Linked DNA regions of Homo sapiens: regions 2 and 3 are each linked to region 1. The links are contacts of gene promoters, found by promoter capture Hi-C in blood cells and fetal thymus (Javierre and others, 2016). All regions are on one chromosome and are shown on one strand. Each heading gives the region's core, a stretch centred on a gene start or on the middle of the fragment in contact. The rest is flanking DNA. Distances are from core to core; before and after follow the strand shown.

Region 1 (2,960 bases), core at 369-2,868:
GATACTTGATTAATATCTATTCTCACTTTACTCAACTATTTAAGAAATATACCTATCCTTTTGTGTAAAGCTGAAGAGTATATATATGATATTCTTTAGCATTTAGACTAATTATTTAAAACAGTGTCTGTAAATACACATATGACATGAATATTTTCGAATCTCTTGCTCACTGCTGAAGTGAAAGCTGTTTTAATAAAACCCATCCACACTTATTTGTCTCAGGAGTAATTCTACTGGGTACTCCCTACAAAATGCTGATTCATTTAGAATGCTTCCTGCCGTTCTACAGTTGGACTTCGGTGGTTCAAATGTAAATTTTTCAAGAACCATTTCTCAAAGGCAACTGCGAACTTTAAAAAGAAATATTTTTTCTAAAACCAAAGAATTTCCCCTGAGTAGAGACAAAGTATTTTTTTTTTTAATTTACCTAGAGGAACCTAATTAAATTTTTGATAACGTTTTGAATCTAACCGACATTAGTAGAATAAATGTTTTTCTTAGATTTTATATTTCCTAAATTTAACAAAACTGTTTACAAAATTTGTTCTATCTAAATCAGCCAATCTGCCCAGCTTTATCTGAGATCCAATCCCAAAAATACAACTGGCCACTAAATAATTTACACAAGATATCTCAAAGTCACATCAACTGGGATTTCACCTACAAGAAGTCAACAAAAACTACAGTCTTAGTCTCTTGGCATAAAATTACTTCCTGTTGAATACAAAAAGAATCATTCAGCTGTTTGTAAGTCCAAAATGTTCAGCGGGAGAGGTCAACGGAAAGCAAATCCCAGACGCGGGCCCACTTCTTATCTCAGGAGATCGCCTCGCTAGCCCAGGGTAGGCCTTGGGGTGGAGATAGGGATAGGGGTAGGGGTGAGGGTGGCAAGCCGCACCCCGCGGAGGAAGCCGGCAGGCCCAGACGGCCCGCGCACCTCCCAGCGCCCCTGGGGCCCTCGAGCACAATGCCTTGCTGAGCAGCGCCCAGGAACGCCGGGCCCTGGCAGGCCGGCTGTGCGCGGGAGATCGCGGAGATTGGGCCTGAGTCAGGGCGCGATCGGGTTTCTCTCTGTCAGGCAGAGCGCTGGCGAGATTTCGAGATTCCTGATACAGGCAAGGTCCGAGGCAGCCGGGGAACCGGCGGGCTTCCACGCGGGGGCCCCAGTGCGCCCCGACACGCGCCCAGGCCCCGCGGTGCGGCACTCAGGGCGCCCGGCGGCCTGGCCCGCGCCCGGGGCAGATAACGAGTAACCGGAGCGCCGGCACGCGCCGGCAGGCCGCCTCGGAGTGCCCGGGCCCTGTCCGCTGGCTGGGGGCCCGCTGGACCAGGGCAGCCAGGTCCCCTCCCGTCGCCGCTACACTCGCGACCCCTCCTCTCCCTCCGCGAGAAACCCGAGGATCCGCGGACGATACCCACCTCAGCAGGCGAGAGAGGTGGTGCCCAGTACCTACCCGGTCATCCTCAAAAATGATTTTGGCTGGTATTTCCTTGCGGATGATCTTCCCAAAGATCGTGTCGCCACCAGGCCGAGCGACCTGAGCCTTGGCAATCTCATCTGCCATCTCGGCCTCTCTCCCGCGCGGCGGCCAGAGGAGAGGCTCGGAAGAAGGGAGGAACCCGCAGAGCGTGCGGCGCGAGAGGGCGCAGCCAAGCCTGCGCAGGTGCCCCGGCTCTGGCGCCCCACCTAATCTTGCGCGTGCGCACTGGCGACCTGGGCTGCGAGTGCGGCCAGCGCGCTAGAGCGCCTCAGGGACCTCCGGCTTGGGGAAGTTCCTGGTCTTGAGCTCCAAGGAGATTCCTAAGTCGTTTTTCTATCCTCCTTTCTTGTCTCCTGGGGAATGCAGTTACTGGTATAAACCCTTCGTCTGCCTATGGATGCTTGTAGGGAAAGTTGGATACTGTAACTGACAAGATTTGATAATTTAAGTGGTGCTGGCTGCAACTTAGCACTTAGATTATTTAAGGTCTTGCTGCTGCAGCAGATTTTAAGTCCTCTCTTCAACAGAGTTTTTTTCTCTCTCTACCAGTGGTTCTCAATCTTGACTACACATTAAGATCACTTGGGGAGCTTTTAAAAATCCCCGTGAACCTGGCTGCAGCCCAGATCCATTAAATAAGAATCTTTGGAGATGAGCCCCAGGCATCAGTAGTTTGTAAACCTCCCTAGACTGCTCTGCAAAGAATTTTTCCCAGCAGCAATCAACATAATGTATTAATAAAATGACCCACTTTAAAAAAAAAAACCTTCCTTAATCCCACATCCCCCTCCGTATCTTTGCTCGTTTTATAAAGAAGTTTTCTACATACCATGTCTGCTTTCTTATCTTTCATTTTTGAGTCCATTTCCCTCTTGTCAAGGTCACTAAGGACATCCATTTATAAAATCCTATAGACAATTACAGTTATCATACCAGACCTCTAAGTGTACGTATTAAGAAAAAGTATACCTCCTCAATGCCTTTTTTTTTTTTAGATAGATTCTTGCTCTGTCGCCCAGGCTCGACTGCAGTGGCACAATCTCGGCTCATTGCAACCTCTGCCTCCCGAGTTCGAGTGATTCTCATGCCTCAGCCTCCCAAGTAGCTAGGACTACAGGCGCGCACCACCACACCTGGCTAATTTTTGTATTTTTAGTAGAGACAGGGTTTCCCCATGCTGGCCAGGCTGTTCTCAAACTTCTGACCTCAGGTGTTCCACCCGCCTCAGCCTCCCAAAGTGCTGGGATTACAGATGTGAGCTCAGCTGCCTTTTATGATTACATTACTACCCTTGTCTTGGCAAAATTATTGAATGTGGTTGCCTTTAATCTCAAAAGTGTCCATTTGGTACTTTTGCTATCAAAGACATTACTGGGACAATTCGTAAAATCTAAATAATGCCTATAAATTAGATAATAGTTTTGAAGTCATGTTAATTTCCTTTCATAACCACAGAAAAATTGTCAAAATCAGTTG
Region 2 (2,961 bases), core at 419-2,918, 180 kb after region 1:
AATTATCATTTGGCCAAGCGCGGTTGCTCATACCTGTAATCCCAGGACTTTGGGAGGCTAAGGCGGGCAGATCATCTCAGGTCAGGAGTTTGAGACCAGCCTGGCCAACATAGTGGAACCCCATCTCTACTAAAAATACAAAAATTAACTGGGCGTGGTGGTGGGCGCCTGTTGTAGTCCCAGCTACTTGTGAGGCTGAGGCAGGAGAATTGCTTGAACCCAGGAGGTGGAGGTTGCAGTGAGCCAAGATTGTACCACTGCACTCTAGCCTGAATGACAGAGCAAGACCCCATCTCAAAAAAAAAAAAAAGAGAGAGAAAATTATGATCATTGAACTAAAAGAGTCATGGAGAAAATTAATAGGTGGGTTAAATAGCAGAATAGAAACAGGTAAAAGTCCTAAATATATAAAAATGAATCTGAAACTAGAGATTCTGTGAAATCAGAGCCAAGTACGAAGACAATCTTCAAAACACCTATCACAAAAAAAGAATTTTGTATTCAAATGACCAAGAATTAGATTGATAGTCTACTTTTCATCAGCAACAATAGAGGTCTTCTGCAAAGAACTGAAGGAAAAGCACTGTCAACCAAGAATTCTATACTTCGCTAAACTGTCGTGCAAGAATAAAGGAAAAAATACAGTAGTCCCATTTTATTCGTGGTTTTGCTTTCTTTGGTTTCAGTTTTTGGCCAACTGTGGTCCAAAAATATTAAATGGAAATTTTTAGAAATAATTCATAACTCTTAAATTGCAGCCATTTTGAGTAGCATGATGAAATTTTGAACCGTCATGCTGTGTCTCATCTGGAACATGTATCATCCCTTTGTGCAGTGTATCTACTCTATATGCTACCCGTCGGTTAATGTGTAGGCAGAAACATAATTTATGTAGAGTTTGGTAATATTTATGGTTTCAGGCATACACTGAGGGCCTTGGAGCATTATCTTTCATGGTTAAGAGGGAACTACTGTATAGATATTCTTTTAACAGCGTATCTGGGTGAAGGATACATGGGAGATTTCTGTTCTGTATTAGTAACTCGGCTGTAAGTTTGAAATTATTCCAAAATTACAATTAAAAACTGCAGTCTTAGACAAACAACTGAGAAGCTTACCACCTTCTCAGTTAACCATTAAAGAGCACATATTACTGAAAAATTGTTTGAGTATCTTTTTTTTTTTTTCCAAGACAGAGTGTCACTCTGTCATCCAGGCTGGAGTGCAGTGGCATGATCTTAGTCCATTGCAGCCTCCAGGTGCAAGCGATTCTTGTGCCTCAGCCTCCCAAATAGCTGGAATTACAGGCATGTACCACCATGTCTGGTTAATTTTTGTCTTTTTAGTAGAGTCGGGTTTGACCATGTTGGCCAGGCTGGTCTCGAACTCCTGATCTCAAGTGATCTGCCTGCCGTAGCCTCCCAAAGTGCTGGTATTACAGGCACGAACCACCATGCGTGGCCTGAGTATGTACTTTCTGAAGAAGGAAGTTGAACTTCAAAGGAAGGATTGAGAGGCAAGAAGCAATAATCAAATCAATTGGCAAATTTGGAAAAATATTAATCATCAGCATCATTGTGTACTTACTGTATACTAAGTGTTTTGTTTAATTTTCACAATAGTCCCATGGTATAGGTACTATTATTTTCCTGGACAACATTTTCCAGTTTGAAAGAGGTCATTCAGACCCCAGTACAATGATGAAAAAGGACCAAACCAAGTAACATCTCTGTGGCATTTGAGAATTCCAAGAGTTAAGGAAAAAAATGTTTAACTCTTCTAGAAGGGAAATACATCACACACAAAGGAAGGAAAATTGGAATGTCATCAGACTTCTCACAACCCTGGAAGTTAGCAGATACTGAAATAGTGTCTTTAAAATCCTGAGGGAAAGATTTTTGTCTTGGTATTCTATATTCAACTAAACGATCAATCAAATATCAAATGTAAGGAATTAAAACATTTTCATTCTGTGTCCCACTTCTTAGGAAGCCAGGGGAGTATGTGTATGATTTTACAACATAAGTGAGAAGGATGAGAAGAGGAAGACATGATTCACAGAAACAGAACATACCAACTTAGAGCAGTTAGGATTGAAGCAAGAGGCTAGGAAGAAACCAAAAGAATATTTGAATCAGTACATCTATTAATATGTTCAGGTATTTGGAAATTACAGGTGTTTTACAGATCTGATATAGGTACATAAAAAAACTAAGCAATTAAAAAAGCTTAGCAGTTATTCAGAGAAAACAAAAGATTATTTAAGAAAAGATAGGACGGCTGAGGTAGGAGAATCGTTTGAACCCAGGAGGTGGAGGTTGCAGTGAGCTGAGATTGTTCCACTGAACTCCAGCCTGGGCAACAGAGCAAGACTCTTGTCTCAATAAAAAAAAAAAAAGATAGCTAATTATACCAAGTAGTCTAAAAATTGATAATTTGAGAAGTAGCAATGGGCATCTTACTTACAATTATAAAAGTTAATACCACGCTGGGCACGGTGGCTCATGCCTGTAATCCCAGCCCTTTGGGAGGCTGAGGTGGGCAGATCAGGAGGTCAGGAGATCGAGACCATCCTGGCCAACATGGTGATACCCCATCTCTACCAAAAATACAAAAATTAGCTGGGTGTCGTGGTGCATGCCTGTAATCCCAGCTACTCGGGAGGCTGAGGCAGGATAATCACTTGAACTGGGGGGGTGGAGGTTGCAGTGAGTTGAGATTGTGCCACTGCACTCCAGCCTGGTGACAGAGTAAGACTCCTTCTCAAAAAAAAAAAAAAAAGGTAAATACCAGAAGAAGCAGCTTGGTAAGTTAAAAACAGTTCCCACTAAGAGATGGAGAGGCACAGGTCAGAGATTTGCCATTTTTAATAGTCTTTTTTTTTTTTTTTTTTTAAGATAGGGTCTCACTTTGTCACTGGGCTGGAGTGCAGTGGCGCCGATCTCAGCCCACTGCAACCTC
Region 3 (2,700 bases), core at 201-2,700, 190 kb after region 1:
AAAAAAATTTTTTTTTTAATTTCACAAAGGCTTCTTAATGGGCAAGATTTTTGATCCAGGGTGAAATTAAACTTATTAAATAGCAGCACTGAAATAATGTTCATGAGACTGTATATTTAAGCCTTTTCTCTTATATTCCTGCTAAGAGGATTGGATGGAGGAAATAAGTGATACTATTCTTTGAGCTTATAAAACTTCACAGTATTTACCCAATTCATTGGCCAAAGACTGCCACTTCCTTGATTTAGAGTTTGGGTAAGATAAGGAATGTTCATCTCTGCTTAAATAAACATTCCAGGTTCTGAATTTTAATTAATGGCAAAAATGTAAACTTTTCTTTCTTTTGATATTCCTTGGATGTATGCTTAAATCTTAACATGTTATTTTCCTGTATGTTAGAGGACTTGTCCTCTGGACTGTAGAATCAGGGTCCTGAATTCATGCCTTGTTATACTACCCAGATTTGTGACACTGAGGGTGTGTGCCTTAACTTTACATTACATCTTTATCTGTACAGCTACAAAAATCACCGTCACTTCTGTCTTTCCAGGTTTAGAGTCGTGGCTTTGGAAAAAGCAAAAGGGAGGAATTTAATTTCACTTAATGTTCAGGACTCTGTGATCCTGTAATGTGGTTGTTACTGATCTATAGTTGGCAAAGCTTATAAATGTGTGAGGTCTCTTTCCAGAATTTACAAATAAGTGATTTATATTTCGCCATTTGGGACAAAAATGTTAACATCTCTTTGAACACAGTCAAATTGATACATCTTTAGTCTTTGATCTTTTCATTTCAAGGAAGGCTCATTTTCTTCATTCTACCACTCTACTTTTTAAACTTTATATCCATTTTTCTTGCAAACATTGTCTACACTTGTTGACTCTGCTGCTTTCCTTTCACTCACTTAACCTCCTGTAATCTGATGTCTACCCACACTACTTTACTGAAACTGCTGTTGCCAGCGCCACACTGTGTTTGCTGCACAGTCTAAGGAATAGTCCTCAGTCTTTCCTATCTCAGTGGCAGTTAATACTGCCACCCACTTTCTCCTTGAAACAGGCTCCAGTGACACCACATTTAACGGATTTTCCTCTTCTAATTCTGGTAACACCCAAACCTCCTTAGTAGACTTCTCTTTTTCTACCTATGATTTAAATGCTGTTCTTACTCAGAGGACTCTGTTGAGCACACTTTGCTTGTCATGATACCGTTTTGCCTAGAGATCATTCATTGCTTTAGTCATAATCTGATGATTGCAAAACTTCTCCTTGGCTTCAGATTTATATATCAAACTGTCTATTGGACATCTTAACTTGACTATTGTAGTAGTCTGCAAGTGATATAAACCCACTTCATCATAACTTCAGGCTAAAGAGGGAGATATGTTGCCTTACAAAACCAAACGTCTGGTGCACAGGTGAAACTGATCTTAGGGATGCCTAGAATCAGAGATTGATGTCATCTTGACTTCCCACTTCTCTTTTGCCGCTGCTTGTCAGCATTATTACCTCAAAACCATCTTCCACATGAGGTATAGGATATTATTGACTAAGGACATCCTTAAAGTCAACAGCTTGGCAGTCAGAAATAAAAAATAGGTTTAACTCTTTGTCCAACTGCAGATAGAACATTGCCTGACAAGGATTCTGATAGACTCAGCTTGGTTTGCCACAGTGGGATGTAGAGTATTTTGACTAACATGCGTTCTAGTAATGATGGTAGGAGTGGTGGGAGTGGTAGGGATCTAATAGCTCGATTCACAGAAGAAAGCCAACTTAACCTCTACCCATTTTTCATGTACAGCTCTAATTCCAGTGGATAAGGTAATAAGTTTGTTTATGGTTTTTGATGAACTGCACCTGCTTGATTATCTCCTTAGAATTCATTGCTGTGTCAATTACTGTCTGAGTTGTCTGTGAGAATAAAGGACTCAACTGAAGAAACCTATATGAAAATGGTGATCATTATTTCTTCTTGGAATTAGAAACTTGTATGTGGCAGTCATAATGTTCTAATTAGTGATTTTTAAAAATTAACTCATTAAAATAATCCATACTTTTATAATCATAAAATAGGATGCCCCACGAAGGCAAAGATTTCTGTCTGCTTTTACTACTACACCTAGAACTTGACACTTAAAAAGTTGCTCAAAAAATAATTTGTTGAATCAATATCAGTTTGTTAAAATCTTGATTTTTTTTCAGTGTTTACTTTTTTTGGTAATATTTATTTTAAGAAATAAAAGCTTTCAAGGATAAGTAAAGTTTAACTTTTTTTTACTTTTTCTTTTTTTTCCCTAGACTATCTGTTATAGTCCCTGGGTCAAGACAACAATTTTTATACCTTCGTCGTGGTTCAGAAAGGAGTCTCTGTAGAACCAGAAGCAAAGAAAGGAAACAATCCAAATTTTTCTTTATTAAATCGACTGTGTAAGATACTTGACTTCCAGGAACAAAAACACGGTGAAATAATAAAATTTCATCTTGGCATCACTGGACATCATCGTATTGAGGAGCGTATTTTTGGAACTTCCCGAGTTGAGATTTGGAACCTTCATTGGTGCTCATTTACTGTGGACTGTAAGCATGAGTGAATTCTGGTTGTGTTTCAACTGCTGTATTGCAGAACAGCCTCAGCCTGTAAGTATGAAGTATGTGGACACATCAGGTGGGGTGCTTATTAAACTTTCCACTGGTTCTC

What was found. Contacts are between HindIII fragments. The CHiCAGO score rates a contact against its expected background, and 5 or more counts as called.
Region 2: a fragment that was not itself captured here is called in contact with the fragment with the promoter of HINT1 in region 1 in 11 of 17 cell types (total CD8 T cells, naive CD4 T cells, non-activated CD4 T cells and 8 more); the score reaches 14.8 in total CD8 T cells.
Region 3: a fragment that was not itself captured here is called in contact with the fragment with the promoter of HINT1 in region 1 in 15 of 17 cell types (naive CD4 T cells, non-activated CD4 T cells, total CD8 T cells and 12 more); the score reaches 23.5 in naive CD4 T cells.

Annotation. Positions count from the first base shown.
Region 1 is chr5:131,163,638-131,166,597 of GRCh38, forward strand. It overlaps HINT1 (histidine triad nucleotide binding protein 1), which reads right to left and starts at 1,619. Exons shown (of 3, transcript NM_005340.7): 1 at 1,458-1,619. The coding sequence starts at 1,568. RefSeq lists enhancers at 348-1,008, 1,009-1,668, 1,939-1,988 and silencers at 799-1,438, 1,649-1,728, 1,739-1,788. The HindIII fragment of the contact is 11,885 bases long and covers 1-2,960 here.
Region 2 is chr5:131,339,514-131,342,474 of GRCh38, forward strand. The region is part of intron 2 of CDC42SE2 (CDC42 small effector 2); the gene reads left to right. Among named protein-coding and RNA genes, the nearest start is that of CDC42SE2, 77 kb to the left of the region's middle. The HindIII fragment of the contact is 1,115 bases long and covers 1,112-2,226 here.
Region 3 is chr5:131,356,909-131,359,608 of GRCh38, forward strand. It overlaps CDC42SE2 (CDC42 small effector 2), which reads left to right. Exons shown (of 5, transcript NM_001375635.1): 3 at 2,301-2,639. The coding sequence starts at 2,586. Among named protein-coding and RNA genes, the nearest start is that of CDC42SE2, 94 kb to the left of the region's middle. RefSeq lists enhancers at 825-874, 965-1,044, 1,065-1,114, 1,135-1,224. The HindIII fragment of the contact is 1,585 bases long and covers 659-2,243 here.